2 separate regions of the Homo sapiens genome follow, and region 2 is linked to region 1. Evidence: promoter capture Hi-C in 16 types of primary human blood cells and fetal thymus (Javierre and others, 2016). All regions are on one chromosome and are shown on one strand. The core of a region is centred on a gene start or on the middle of the fragment in contact, and the rest is flanking DNA. Distances in the headings are between cores, read along the strand shown.

Region 1 (7,747 bases), core at 4,163-6,662:
GATGGATGGGTGGATGGGTGGAGGGATGGATGGGTGGATGTGTGAGTAGATGGGCAGGTGAATGGGTGAGTGGGTGAATGGATTGGTGGGTGGGTGGATGGATGGTTCTGTGGATGGCTTTGTGAGTGGGTGGATAGGTGGATGGATGAATGGCCAAGTGCATGAATGAATGGGCTCCTTGAAGCCTGGCTCACAACTGTTTCTCAAAGCTTTCTAAATCTCTGAAATGTGAGGCCCTGGCACCCCCCAGAGGCCAAAGTCTCTAACTGCCCATCTCCCCTAAAGCCCTGGGCACCAATACTTCTGAGAACCAGGGGCACGCACCTAGAGAAAGTTAAGGATTCTGGGAAACAAAAAATCTAGAGACCCAGTGCTGGTTCTGCCCTTGACAGACTGTGACCTTGGGAAAGTTCAACCTTCTGAGGCTCAATTTTCTCAGCTGTAAATGGTGCTAATCAAACCTGATGCCTGTGTTGCTAGGAGATTTAAACCAAATTATGAGTAAATTGTCTGAGATGTTTGATATCTGGCCCATAGAAGATGCTGACGGAAAGTGATTTCCTTCCCAGAGGCAGTCCTGGGCTCACATGCAGGCACACACATGCACATCACTCACACAACATCTCTCCAGCCCATTAGGGAAGAGGGAGTGAGACCATAGGCTAGGCCAGACCAGGAGAGGCAGATGGGGATACATTTATTCTCTGGGAGTTTCTTGCTCTGGCAAAACTGTTCCAGACTCTGAGTCCGAGGACGCAGACAGTGAGGGCAGCAAGGAAGACCCTGAGACCTCCTGGGGTTCAACCTCCTGGGCCTCGGCCAGCTGGGTCGTGTGCTCAAAGGCAGCCTGCAGCAGGTGGGAGGCCAGGCAGGTGGTCCAGGTGATGAGATAGGCCAGGTGCCAGGAGGTGAGGGCAGTCATAGTCTCCACCCACCAATACAGACGTCTCAGCTGTACCAGGAGCTTCCTTACCACGCAGTTCACTTGCAAGGCCTGGAACAGGGAGACAGATGGGCAGGTGGCCCTTAGGAGCTCATAGGGTTACACTGCTTGGCTGTGGCTCCCCCCTGCAAGCCCAGCCAGCCCTGACCACACCCAGTACCCCAGGTTTGCCCTCCACACCCCAGCCTCACCCCGAGACCACCCACCTTACTGAGCTGCCTGCCCAGTCGGAAGCAGTGGGACTTCTGACACACCCTCCAGGTCACTACCACCAAGAGCAAGGCCACCAACATCAGGCCGTGCAGACATGACAAAAACAGATCTGTCCAGATGGCCACAGACAGGCCCAGCTGCTCCCAGGCACTGAGCAAGGCCAGGCCCAGGCCCTTGGTGCTGCCCCACATGCCAGCCCACATCAGCCTGGGTCCCTGTAGCACCAGCCATACGGGGACCTGTATCAGAGCCAGCCCAGCCCAGAGAGCCTGGCCCAGGGGGCAGGCTGCAGCTCCCAGGGGTAGGTGGGCCTGCCAGTTACAGGACCCCCGGGCCTCCTGGGCCAGCCCTGACACCCAGTGGTTGAAGAGGTTGATCTTGAGGAGCAGGAAATTATAGAGGTGATCTCGGTTCTGAACCAACTGCAGAAGAAGAGAGAGAGACAACCGTCAGCCATCATCACCCTCCTGGGACAGGAACCCCACTTTTTCTTTTTCTTTTTTTTTTTTTTGAGACGGAGTTTCACTCTTGTTGCCCAGGCTGGAATGCAATGGCGCTATCTCGGCTCACTGCAACCTCCACTTCCCGGTTTCGGGCGATTCTCCTGCTTCAGCCTCCTGAGTAGCTGGGATTACAGGCGCCTGCCACCACACCTGGCTAGTTTTTGTATTTTTAATAGAGATGGAGTTTCACCATGTTGGTCAGGCTGGTCTCGAACTCCTGACCTTAGATGATCCACCCGCCTCAGCCTCCCAAAGTGCTGGGATTACAGGCGTGAGCCACTGCGCCTGGCCAGGAACCCCACTTTTACTGTAGAGGTGAAGCTGCTGGACCACCTTGAGTCAGATCCCCATCTCAAGGCCTCAGCTCCCCACAGGTGCAAGGATGAACTCTGTCCACTTTGAAGGACTCCCTTCTGAGAAGGGAACATTAGAAGGTGTTTCATATTGTATTTGGGTTCCTTTCCATTGGATATTTTTTTTTAAGAAACAGGATCTCACTCTGTTGTCCACGCTGGAGTGCAGTGGTGTCATCATAGCTCACTGCAGCCTTGACCTCCCACACTTAAACAACCCTCCCATCTCAGCCTTCCAAAAAGCTGAGACCACACAAGTGCATGCCACCATGCCTGGCTAATTTTTTTTTTTTTTTTTTTAAGAAATGGAGTCTTCTTATTATGCCTGGGCTGGTCTTGAACTCATAGGCTCAAGCAATCCTCCCCCCATTAGCCTCCCAAGTAGCTGGAGCTATAGGTGCATCTCACTAAGTCCAGCTAATTTTTTTTTTTTTTTTTTTTTTTGTAGAGGCGGGGTCTTGCTATGTTATCCAGGCTGGTTTCGAACTCCTGGCCTCAAGCAATCCTCCTGCCTCAGCCTCCCAAAGTGCTGGGATTGCAGGCATGAGCCACTATACCTGGCCTCCATTGGATTTAAATGATTATTTACAATACTCCAGACTGAAGGAGGTTTCATGGCTATTATTACCATGTTACGATCCCCCACCCCAATCCTGTGGGCTTTGAACCCAGGTCACTTGTCTTCTTCCAAGTAGCTGGGCTTTGCCTCTGTACCAGTTGTCCCCTGGCATCAGGAGGGCTGCTGGGGCAAAGGACAATGCCATTAGGGGCAGGGAGGCGTGAGAGACATGGGGCAGGGGTCACATAATTCACGACAGACCTAATGAGAAGGGTGAAGGAGAGAGATCCAGAAAGACTTCCAGATTTCCAGCCGGACATGGTGGCTCACACCTGTAATCCCAGCACTCTGGGAGGCCGAAGCAGACGGATCACCTGAGGTCAAGATTTCGAGACCAGCCTGGTCAACCTGGTGAAACCCCATCTCTACTAAAAATACAAAAATTAGCTGGGCATGATGGTGCATGCCTGTAATCCCAGCTACTCGGGAGGCTGAGGCAGGAGAATTGCTTGAACCCAGGAGGCGGAGGTTGCAGTTTGCCCAGATCGTGCCACTGCACTCCAGCCTGGGTAACAGAGTGAGACTCCATCTCAAAAAAAAAAAAAAAGAATTCCAGATTTCTGATCTGGGTGGTGAGTTGGACAACGGTGTCTCCCATTCACTGAGATGAAGCTGCAGGACTGGGGTGAGGTGGGGGAAAGCTGTTCTTGAGTCCTGGAGACCCTTCATCAGAGCTGGAAAGCCCCCAGCCCTTGAGTGACACCAATCCACCCACCTGGACCCCCCATCCCCGTGTCCACAGGCCCCACCATCTGAGATTGGCTGCAAGACCCCCCACTCACGGGCTGGATTTGCAGAGCTTGGGACGTGGAGGGTGGAGCTATGCTGAGACCAAAGGGTCCAGCAGGGAGAAGAATTAGGGTAGAGCTAGGAAATAGGACCTCCCAGGTTATGGTGCTGAGACCAGGGAGGAGGGAAACCTATGATATCCCACATGATCCCACAAGATCATTTCTATAGGAGAGGAAACGGGCTCAGAGTGGTGAAGTGATTTGCCCAAATTCACACAGCTAGAGGGTAAAACAGCCAAGATGCAAATCTTTTTTTTTTTTTTTTTTTTTTTTTTTCTGAGACAGGGTTTTGCTCTTGTTGCCCAGGGTTGCCCAGGCTGGAGTGCAATGGTGGGATCTCGGCTCACCGCAACCTCCGCCTCCCAGGTTCAAGCGATTCTCCTGCCTCAGCCTCTTGAGTAGCTGGGATTACAGGCATGCACCACCACGCGTGGCTAATTTTGTATTTTTAGTAGAGACAAGGTTTCTTCATGTTAGTCAGGCTGGTCTGGAACTCCTGACCTCAGGTGATCTGCCCGCCTCGGCCTCCCAAAGTGCTGGGATTACAGGTGTGAGCCACAGCTCCCGGTCCCAAGATGCAAATCTAATGGTGTCTGTCTTTCTCAACTGCCCCCTGTTATATGATCTTGGCTGACTGCAGCCTTGGCCTCCCAGGCTCAATCTATACTCCCACCTCGGCCTCCTAAGTGTGACTGAGTTGTGACCCCGACCACAAGCATGTGTATGTTTAAAAGAGATGAATGGGCCAGGTGCGGTGGCTCACACCTGTAATCCCAGAACTTTGGGAGGCCGAGGTGGGTGGATTACGAGGTCAGGAGTTTGAGACCAGCCTGGCCAATGCGGTGAAACCCTGTCTCTACTAAAGATACAAAAAATTAGCTGGGCGTGGTGGCGCACGCCTGTAATCCCAGCTACTTGGAAGGCTGAGGCAGGAGAATTGCTTGAACCTGGAGGTGGAAGTTGCAGTGAGCCGAGATCGCACCATTACACTGCAGCCTGCGCGACAGGGCAAGACTGCATCTGAAAAAAAAAAAAAGAGAGAGAGATGAATGAGCCAGGCGCAGTGGCTTATGTCTGTAATCCCAGCACTTTGGGGAGCTGAGGCGGGCAGATCACAAGGTCAGGAGATCGAGACCATCCTGGCTAACAGGGTCTCTACTAAAAATACAAAAAAAAAAAAAAATTAGCCAGGGATGATGGCACGTGCCTGTAGTCCCAGCTACTTGGGAGGCTGAGGCAGAAGAACTGCTTGAACCCAGGAGGCAGAGGTTGCAGTGAGCCGAGATCGCACCACTGCACTCCAGCCTGGGCAACAGAGCGAGACTCTGTCTCAAAAAAAAGAAAAAATGAATGGGAAAAACAATGATTCACCCATAGGAGTGACCCTCAATAGAGAAAATGCTGCCAGGTGCGGTGGCTCACACCTATAATCCCAGCACCTCAGGAAGCTGAGGTAGGAGGATCATGTGAGGCCAAGAGTTGGAGACCCGCCTGGGCAACGTAGTGAGACACCATCTCTACAAAATACAAAAATTAGTCAGGCGTGGTGGTGCACACCTATAGTCCCGGCTACTTGGAGGCTGAGGGGGGAGGATTGCTTGAGACCGGGAGTTGGAGGCTGCAACGAGCTGAGCCGGCACCACTGCGCTCCAGGCTGGGCGACAGAGCGAGACCCTGTCTCTAAATAAAGAAAAGAAAAGAAAATGTCAGCACTGTAGTTTGGAGTGGGGCTTCTGGGAGATGTCAGATTATTCTGGAAGGCAGGCAGCCACCTCGTTCCACTGGATGGGACAGGCAGGGCTTGGGCCCGGCAGCTCTGAGGTGGCTCTGTGAAGGGCCTGGTGTGTGGTCCCCACCCCACTTACCCCCAGCCCCCACTCACCAGCACTGAGAGCCTCGTAACCTGCAACAGGATCCCCAAAAGGCTGGATCTGACTGGAGGAAGGGCCTCCATGTCTGGCCTCCCCCACCTACTCCAGCTGGGAGAAGCAGGGTGACCTCACAGATGCCACAGGGTGGGGACCAAGTTACCATGGGGACCCGGTTGCCGCCAGTGACCCACTGCCTTTACCTGGCTCCTGCCGCTCCACTGCTTCCTCTGAAACCTCAGTCCACGTCTGAGCCCAACACGGCCAAGGAGGTCTTAGAGCAAAGCTTCCTTCGGGTCGGATTTCCCCAGATCTTGGAACAGGAATCAAGTGCCGCCTAGGAACGGGGTTCATGCCTGGATTCCCAATGCTTTGGGAGGCCAAGGTAGGAGGATCGCTTGAGGCCAGGAGTTTGAGACCAGCATGGGCAACATAGCAAGACCCTGTCTTACAAAAAAACAAAAAAAGAAAAAAATTAACCAGCCTTGGTCATGCACACCTGTAGTCCCAACTACTCAGGAGTCTAAAGTGGGAGAATCGCTTGAGCCCAGGAGATAGAAGTTGCAGTGAGCCAGGATCACTCAAGCCTGGGTGACAGAGCAAGACCCTATCTCTAAACAAAGAAAAAAAATTGAAGGGTGATGAGTTTATTTGGGGAGTGGGCCCTGCAAGCATCCATAGGAAGTCAGAAAGTGAGGCAAGGGGCCAGGCACAGTGGCTCACACCTGTAATCCCAGCACTTTGGAAGGCCGAGGCAGGCAGATCACGAGGTCAGGAGTTTGAGACCTGTTGGGAACAGGCCCCCAAAATCTGGCCATAAACTGGCCCCAAAACTGGCCATAAACAAAATCTCTGCAGCACTGTGACATGTTCGTGATGGCCATGACACCCACGGTGGAAGGTTGTGGGTTTACCGGAATGAGGGCAAGGAACACCTGGCCCACCCAGGGCGGAAAACTGCTTAAAGGCGTTCTTAAACCACAAACAAGAGCATGAGTGATCTGTGCCTTAAGGACATGCTCCTGCTGCAGATAACTAGCCAAACACATCCCTTTATTTGGGCCCAATCCCTTTGTTTCCCATAAGGGATACTTCTATGGGAATCTAATCTAATCTATAGTTAATCTAATATCTATAGAAACAATGCTAATGACTGGCTTGCTGTTAATAAATACGTGGGTAAATCTCCGTTTGAGGCTCTCAGCTCTGAAGGCTGTGAGACCCCCTGATTTCCCACTTCACACCTCTTTATTTCTCTGTGTGTGTGTGTGTGTGTGTGTGTGTGTGTGTGTGTGTTTAATTCCTCTAGTGCTGCTGGGTTAGGGTCTCCCCAGCCAAGCTGGTCTCAGCAGAGACCAGCCTGACCAACATGGTGAAACCCCGTCTCTACTAAAAATACAAAAAAAAAAAAAAATTGGCCTGGCATGGTGGCGTGCACCTATAATCTCAGCTGCTCAGGAGGCTGAGGCAGGAGAATTGCTTGAACCCAGAAGGCAGAGGTTGCAGTGAGCTGAGATCATGCCACTGTACTCCAGCCTGGGCAAGAGAGTGAGACTCTGTGATAAAAAGAGGGAAGGGGAGGGGAGGGGAGGGGAGGGGGAGAGAGAGAGAGAGAGAAAGAAAGAAAGAAGAAAGAAAGAAAAAGAAAGAAAGAGAAAGAAAAAGAAGGAAAGAAAGAAAGAGAAAGAAAAGAAAGAAAAAGAGAGAAAGAAAAAGAAAGAAAGAAAGAAAAAGGAAGGAAGGAAAGAAAAGAAAGAGAAAGAAAAGAAAGAGAGGCAAGGACAGATGAGTTCATGAGCAGGGTTTGAGTTCAGACAACCGGGGCTGATCCCCAAAATCCCCTGGAAAATGGTGCAGAACGCACCTCAGAGTCACCCCACCCAAGGAGCATGAATACTGGGGTATTTATCTTCCATGACCTGTCTGCTTCCTGTTGGACATTAACTCCCGCTGAACCTCCAATCTTACCAGCACAAACACCAGAGAAAGCCCTCCAGCAGATGGTCGGGTGGGGGTCTTGCAGCAGGCGGCTCAAGCAGTGTGCATGGAAACTAAGGCAGAGGACTCTGGGGTAGGGACAGCAAAAAGGAATCCAGAACAAATAAACCCCTAGACATGTGATGATGGGAGCCTTGACCAGGGCTGAGGCCCTGGAAATGGAGACAACAGATGCCAGAAATCTGTAGCAGGTACAACAGATAGAATTGGAGGATGTCAAGACCCACGATGATCTGAGACGTTGCCCAATTTCATGCTAACAAGTTAGCCAACCAGAGCTCCACAGCTGCCACAGGAAGACATGAGACTCCCAGGTCAGAGATCAAAGACAATGTTACTCATGGCAATAGCAGTGAACTAGGTTATAAGCATTTTCCATTCATTCCTTGAGCTCCAAATCCCACAGGGTGATATGACAAGGGCCAGATGATGCCTGGCAGTATCTGAGGTGGGTGTGTT
Region 2 (7,708 bases), core at 4,850-7,349, 520 kb before region 1:
CTCCCAGGTTCAAGAAATTCTCTTGCCTCAGCCTCCTGAGTAGCTGCGATTACAGGCATGCATCACCACACCCGGCTAACTTTTTTTTTTTTTTTTTTTTTTGTATTTTTAATAGAGACAGGGTTTCACCATGTCCGCCAGGCTGGACATGAACTTTTGACCTCAAGTGATCCACCCACCTCGGCCTCCCAAAGTGTTGGGATTATAGGCATGAGCCACCGCGCCTAGCCTAATTGTTTATTTTTTGAAGAGACAAGGTCTCACTATGTTTCCCAGGCTGGTGTTGAACTCCTAGGCTCAAGTGATCCTCCTGCCTCAGCCTCTTAAAGTCCTGGGATTACAGTGTGAGCCACTGCGCCCAGCCTGATTTAAAATTTTGGTGGAACTAGATGTGCCGATTCTAAGTCACTTATAAAAATGAGCAAGAATACCCAAGAGTTTGGCAGTTCCTCAAAAATTTAAACAGAATTACCATATGAGGCCAGGCGCGGTGGCTCACGCCTGTTATCCCAGCACTTCAGGAGGCCGAGGCAGGTGCATCGATTGAGGCCAGGAGTTCAAGACCAGTCTGGCCAACATTGCGAAACCCTGTCTCTACTAAAAATACAAAAATTAGCCAGGCGTGATGGCGCACACCTTTAATCCCAACTACTCAGGAGACTGAGGCAGGAGAATCGCTTGAACCTGGGAGGCGGAGGTTGCAGTGAGCCAAGATTGCACCACTGCACTCCAGCCTGGGTGACAGAGTGAGACTCCATCTCAAAAAAAAAAAAAAAAAAAAAATCATATGACCTAGCATTCTACTCTTCTAGGTATATACCCCAAAGCACTGAAAACAGGTACTTAACAAGTACATGCATATCTATGTTCTTAGCAGCATCATTCACAATAGCCAAAAGGTAGAAACAACCCAAATGCCCATCAGCTGAGGAATGGATCAACAAAATGCGGTATGTCCATACAATGGAATATCATTTGGCCACAAAAAAGAATGAGGTTCTTTTTTGTTTTGTTTTGTTGTCGTTGTTGTTGTTTGAGATGGAGTCTCACTCTGTCACCCAGGCAGGAGTGCAGTGGCGCGATCTTGGCTCACTGCAACCTCTGCCTCCCAGGTTCAAGTGATTCTCTCTGCCTCATCTTCCTGCGTAGCTGGGATTCCAGGCGCACACCACCACGCCCAGCTAATTTTTGTATTTTTAGTAGAGACTGGGTTTCACCATTTTGACCAGGCTGGTCTCGAACTCCTGACATGAAATGTTCCAAATAGATAAATCCACAGAGATAGAAAGTAAATTAGTGGTTGTGATGGGCTGGGGGGAGAGGAGGATGGAGAAGCACTGCTAGTGGGTATGGGTTCTCCTTTTGGGATGATGAGAATGTTTGTTTTCTCTTTATTTCTTTTTCTTTTCTTTTGTAGAGATGGGTTTTCGCCATGTTGTCCAGGCTGGTCTTGAACTCCTGACTTCAAGCAATTCTCCTGCCCGGGCCTCCCAAAGTGCTGGAATTACAGGTGTAAGCCACCAAATCCAGCCCATGAGAATGTTTTGGAAACCAGATAGAAGTGCTGGGTGTACTACATTGTTGACTGCGCTAAATGCCATTGAAGTGTTTGCTTTAAAATGGCTGATTGTATGTTATGTTAATTTTTTTCATTTGTTAATTTTATAACAAACCTGCACATGTCTATTTTATGTTAATTTCAGCTTAGTTTTTAAACAATAGCCAAGAGAATTTTGATAAAGCAGAGAAGAACAAGCCATGCCAGAAATTACAACATAGACAAAGCTTGACTAATTAAAACATTATAGAATTGGCACATGAAGAGAATAACAAGTCATTGGAATAGAACAAAAGTCCAGAAATAGAGTCAATTACATAAGTGAATTTAAGGACAATAAGGTTAGTAATTCCAATCAATGAGGGTTGGGGGGAGAAAATGACCATTTTCAAAAATAGTGTTGGGATAAGTGGGTATTCCTTTGGGAAAAAATAAAAATGGATCCTTATCTCACACTTATATAAGGATGAATTCTAGATGGATCAGAGATTTCAGCATAGAAAATAGGACAGAAAAGTACCAGAAGAAACCACTGGATACATTTTTTAAACTAAAAAAGAATTGATTTTTTTTTTTTTTTTTTTTTGGTGACAGGGTCTCACTCTATTGCTCAGGCTGGAGTGCAGTGGCATGATCGTAGCTCACTGCAGCCTCCACTTCCTGGGCTCAAGAGATCCTCCCGCCTCACCTTCCCAAGTATCTGGGACTATAGCTGCATGCCACCATACCTGGCTAATTTTTGGAGGGGGGTATTTTTTGTAGAGACAGGGTCTCACTATGTTGCCCAGGCTGGTCTTGAACTCCTGGGCTCAAGCAATACTCCTAACTCAGCCTCCCAAAGTGCTGGGATTACAAGTGTGAGCCACCATACCTGGCCTGATTTTTTAAATATCTGCATGGCCAACACCACCATAAGAAAAAAGTAAAAAGGCAAATGACAAAGTGGGGAAAATGTCTGCAATGTCATACATAAAGAGCTTCTAAAAATCAGCAAAAAGATCAATAACCCAATCAGAAAAAAATGGTCAAAAGACACAAATAGAAATGCAAATAGAAGCCGGGCATGGTGGCTCATGCCTGTAATCCCAGCACTTTGGGAGACCAAGGCGGGAGGATCATGAGGTCAGGAGTTTGAGACCAGCCTGGCCAACATAGTGAAACTCCATCTCTACTAAAAAAAAAAAAAAAAAAAAAATTAGCAGGGCATGGTGGCATGCACGTGTAGTCCCAGCTACTCAGGAGGCTGAGGCAGGAGAATTGCTTGAACCTGGGAGGTGGAGGTTGTGGTGAGCTGAGATCGTGCCACTGCACTCCAGCCTGGGCAACAGAGTGAGACTCTGTCTTAAAAAAAAAAAAAAAAAAGACCAGCCCCAACATGGAGAAACCCCGTCTCTACTAAAAAAAAAAATACAAAAATTAGCCAGGCGTGGTGGTGCATGCCTGTAATCCCAGCTACTCAGGAGGCTGAGGCAGGAGAATTGCTTGAACCTGGGAGGCGGAGGTTGCAGTGAACTGAGATCGCATCATTGCACTCCAGCCTGGGCAACAAGGGTGAAACTCCGTCTCAAAAAAAAAATGCAAATAGAAATACCTCTTAACTTCATCCACATAAGAGAAAGGTGAGTTGAAGTTACACCTTTTACCTTTCAGATTGGCAAAGATCACAAAGTCTGATCAAACGTTTTGTTGATGGGAGTTTGAGGGGAAACAGGTTTTCAACCACAGCTGGTGGGAATTAAAATTGGTTGAGCCCAATGGAAGTCAAGGTAATTTTCTACAGTGGTGTTTGTAATTGACCAAGACTGGAAACAGTCTACCATCTTTGTAACTGACCAAGACTGGAAACAATCTGTGATTGTTATCGGAAACCAGCTAAATACACAATGGTACCTCCACACAATGGAATATTCTGTACCCTGTAAAAGAATGTACTACTGATAAGGAACCCTCTCCAAGATACATTGTTAAATGGAATAAATGAAGGAGCTGAAAGAATGGAAGATATGGTACCATTTGTGTCACTTGCTTGCTCGTACCTGCACAAAATATTTCTGGAAAGGGGATATAAAGAAGCTAACACTGCGCCTTCAGGGAGGGAAGAATAGAGAACAGTGAAGAGTTAGTTTGCCATATGCCCTTTGAACCATTTGAAGTTTAGACCTGTTTTTAAAGTTTAAACCAGCTAGGCACGGTGGCTCATGCCTGTAATCCCAACACTTCGGGAGGCCAAGGCGGGCGGATCACGCAGTCAGGAGATCGAGACCACCCTGGTCAACATGGTGAAACCCCGTCTCTACTAAAAATACAAAAATTAGCTGGGCATGGTGGTGCATGCCTGTAATCCCAGCTACTCGGGAGGCTGAGGCAGGAGAATCGCTTGAACCAGGGAGTTGGAGGTTGCAGTGAGCTGAGATCACACCACTGTACTCCAGCCTGGCGACAGAGCGAAACTCCGTCTAAAATAAATAAATAAATAAAAGTAAAGTATAAACTAAATAAATAAATAAAAATAAAATATAAACCAAACAAATAATAAGGTTTGATATTCCATTAAGTTTACTATTCCGTTAAATCTGTTTCAAAAGAAAAAGAAAAAAAAGACAGCAACTTGGAAGGCTGGTGCAATGCCTATCCCTCCGTAAACTGGCCTCCTCCCTTGCAGGAGTACATAGCTCACAGCACACAGGAGGTGACTCTTACCAAATGGCAGATGATGCAAACCAAAATGTGACCCAGCAGGAAGGCAGAGCCAGCCAGCCTCTTCCCAGAGCCCAGAGTCCCGCCCGGCCTGGTGGCCACTCACCCTCCACAGTTTCCTTCGTCCTGATCGTCTCCTCTGAAATGTCATTCGACTCAATCATCTGCAAAAAGAGCCCCTGTAAGGGGGATGCTCACCTCTGCCCCTTGGCCCCAGCCCCAGCCAGCCCAGCAAGCACACCTGCAGTTTGCACACCCTACTCCTACAAAGGGGGACCTCAGTGACGGACTCAGGGACTTGCTGCGGTGGCAGGGAGTGCAGACGTCCTCAGTCGGACCTCCCTGACAACAGAGGACCCCCATTCTGCACCCAGCTCTGCTGAAGGCCGCCTGTGCAGCTTATACATGAATACCTCCTACCCTTCCTTTGTTGAAAATGTTTATTATATTAAACAGATGGCTCCTTCCCTGCAATGCCTACAGAAATTTGTCCTGGGAATTTGTTTCTCTGTCTCCCAGAGACAAGACTTCTGGCCTCAGTTTCCCATCCATCAAACAAATATTGGCTGCTTTGGGTTAGTGTGTGCACAGCGTGCTTGGGGCCACCTCCTGGAGGGACTTCATTAAATGCTAGCTTCTTTCTCTCCAACATTTCTTTTTAATAATAAACCCAGAGGCCAAAGAAGAAAAGACCTATTAAAAAAAAAAATCAGCCTGGCACACATCACTATGACAAAAGTCAAAACACAACCAATAGGCTCCCTGCCACTCTTGGCAGGAGTTTCCAGTCTCCTGCCCAGGCTGGCTGTCCTCCGAGCCAGCCAGAGTCTGGCACTGCAGATCAGGGAAGCACAGAGCTGAGTAGGCAGTCACCTCTATCATCCTGCCCCTCATACTTCTGTTCATACATCCCAAGTCCCATTTGAGTCTCAATTAGTTGTAATGAACTAAGCCCCTTGGATCATAATTTATATACGATGCAGTAATGAGGCTCACACTAAATTTTTCTTTTTCTTTTTTTTTGAGAAGGAGTCTCGCCCTGATATCCAGGCTAGAGTGCAATGGCTCAATCTCAGCTCACTGCAACCTCCACCTCCCGGGTTCAAGCGATTCTCCTGCCTCGGCCTCCCGAGCGAGTAGCTGGGATTACAGGTGCCCACCACCACGCCCAGCTAATTTTGGGGTTTTTTTATTATTATTTTTTGAGATGGAGTCTCACTCCGTCGCCCAGGCTGGAGTGCAGTGGCGTGATCTCGGCTCACTGCAACCTCTGCCTCCAGGACTCTGAAGCGATTCTCCTGCCTCAGCCTCCCGAGTAGCTGGGACTACAGGCGCCCGCCACCATGCCCGGCTAATTTTTTGTATTTTTAGTAGAGACGGGTTTTCACCATGTTGGCCAGGCTGGTCTCAAACTCCTGACCTCAGGTGATCCACCTGCCTTGGCATCCCAAAGTGCTGGGATTACAGGTGTGAGCCACAGCACCTGGCCACTAAAATAATTTTTAAAATTCCCATATTTACTACCTGAGACCAAAAGTCCAGTTGTGCTTAGGCCTAAACCTCTGAACATGGGGACATATGCGTTTAGACTAAGCCCCAGTGTATACAGAAAATCAAGAGATGGGCTTTTTTTTTTTTTTCCAGACGGAGTCTCCCTCTGTTGCCCAGGCCGGAGTGCAGTGGCACGATCTTGGCTCACTGCAACCTCCACGTCCCGGGTTCAAGTAATCCTTGTGCCTCAGCCTCCTGAGTAGCTGGGATTACAGGTGTGAGCCACCGCGCCCGGCCAGGAGATGGGCTTTCTGGGGCCACTACTACTTCTTGGTCCAAGGGCACCTGTGAATGAGGGGCAGGGACTGGGGGAGGCATCCTCAGGCCTCTGTCCCCCATGCTCTGTGGAACCACAGCAACCTCAAACCTCCCCGCTCAGGGAATTCAGTTCCTGAGTTGCAGGCTGTTTCTGCCTGCCCTGAACAGCTAATCAGGCCATGTGCACGTAAGCTAATTTGGGTTTCTTCCTTTTCTTTCAGCCCAGGATCCTGGAAGAGCACTTGCTAAAAAACAAAATCCCTTCCTGGGAGAAGGGGCAGGAAGGCCATTACAAGGGACCTCAAGGCATGATGCAAAAAGATTTCCTTTTAGACAAAAAAAGCCCCCTGGATTCATTAGTCCTGAGAACTTACTGCCCACATGCTAAATTCTCGGGTTTTTTTGGTTTGTGTATTTTCTTGAGTCACAGCCTCACACTGTCACTCAGGCTGGAGTGCAGTGGTGCAATCATAGCTCACTGCAGCCTCAAACACCTGGGCTCAAGTGATCCTCTTGCCTCAGCCTCCAGCGTAGCTGGGGACTACAGGTACACTACCACTGTACTCGGCTAATTTTTTATTTTTGTAGAGATGGGGTCTAACTATGTTGTCCAGGCTGGTCTCAAACTCCTGGCCTGAAGCAATCCTCCTGCCTCAGCCTCTCGAAATGCTGGAATTATAGGTGTGAGCCACCACACCCACCCCTAAATTCTGGTTTGAATATACATGAGGGTGGTCAGGTGCAGTACCTACTCCCTGTAATCCCAGCACTTTGGGAGGCAAAGGCGGGCAGACAGCTTGAGCCCAGGAGTTTGAGACCAGCCTGGGCAACATGAGGAAACCCCATCTCTACAAAAACTATAAAAATTAGCCAGGTGTGGTGGGGCACACCTGTGGTCCTGGCGACTTGGAAGGCTGAAGTGGGAGGCTCGCTCAAGCCTGGGAGGTTGAGACTGTAGTGAGCCATGATCATGCCACTGCACTCCAGCCTGGGAGACAGAACAAGACCCTGTCTCAAAAACAAAACCAAAAAAAAGGCCAGGGATGGTGCCTCACGCCTGTAATCCCAGCACTTTGGGAGGCCGAGGCGGGCAGATCACCTGAAGTCAGGAGTTTGAGACCAGCCTGGACTACCTGGCGAAACCCCACCTCTACTAAAAATATAAGAATTAGCTGGGCGTGGTGGTGCATGCCTGTAATTGCAGCTACTTGGGAGGCTGATACAGGAGAATTGCTTGAACCTGGGAGGCGGAGGTTGCAGTGAGCCGAGATCCCACCACTGCACTCCAGCCTGGGCAACAAGAGCAAAACTCCATCTCAAAAAAAAAAAAAATGTATGTGGGGGAACTGGAAACTCAAGAATCTCTGAGTACAATTTGTATACAGGCAAGAGTCCGTTGCTAGCCATCCCTCCTATGAATTAATTCCTGTTGTCTTGGGCACTCTCTGTCAGCCCCACAGGGAATGGGGTTGAACATCTCTGCCACTGAGAGGCTGTGGACCTGGGAAAGTCTTGGTTTGCTCACCTGTGAAATGGAGCCAGTATCAATCTAAGGATGTTAAGGTGAAATGGAGTCACATAGGGCCTGGCATAAGACGTGGTACCCAGAGCCACTCAAAAGGCCCTTCCTGGCCCTGGTGGAGT

The links. The method cuts DNA at HindIII sites, captures the fragments that hold promoters and counts their contacts. A CHiCAGO score of 5 or more calls a contact.
Region 2: a contact is called between a fragment that was not itself captured here and the fragment with the promoter of TMEM270 in region 1, in 2 of 17 cell types (M1 macrophages and M2 macrophages). The highest score is 9.1, in M1 macrophages.

The regions. Positions count from the first base shown.
Region 1 is chr7:73,858,824-73,866,570 of GRCh38, reverse strand. It overlaps TMEM270 (transmembrane protein 270), which reads right to left and starts at 5,412. Exons shown (of 3, transcript NM_182504.4): 1 at 5,305-5,412; 2 at 1,150-1,578; 3 at 681-994. The coding sequence starts at 5,376. The coding sequence ends at 698. The HindIII fragment of the contact is 5,367 bases long and covers 212-5,578 here.
Region 2 is chr7:74,377,517-74,385,224 of GRCh38, reverse strand. It overlaps CLIP2 (CAP-Gly domain containing linker protein 2), which reads right to left. Exons shown (of 17, transcript NM_003388.5): 11 at 4,362-4,419. Among named protein-coding and RNA genes, the nearest start is that of GTF2IRD1, 73 kb to the left of the region's middle. RefSeq lists a silencer at 72-366 and enhancers at 3,924-4,424, 4,425-4,925. The HindIII fragment of the contact is 8,624 bases long and covers 1,788-7,708 here.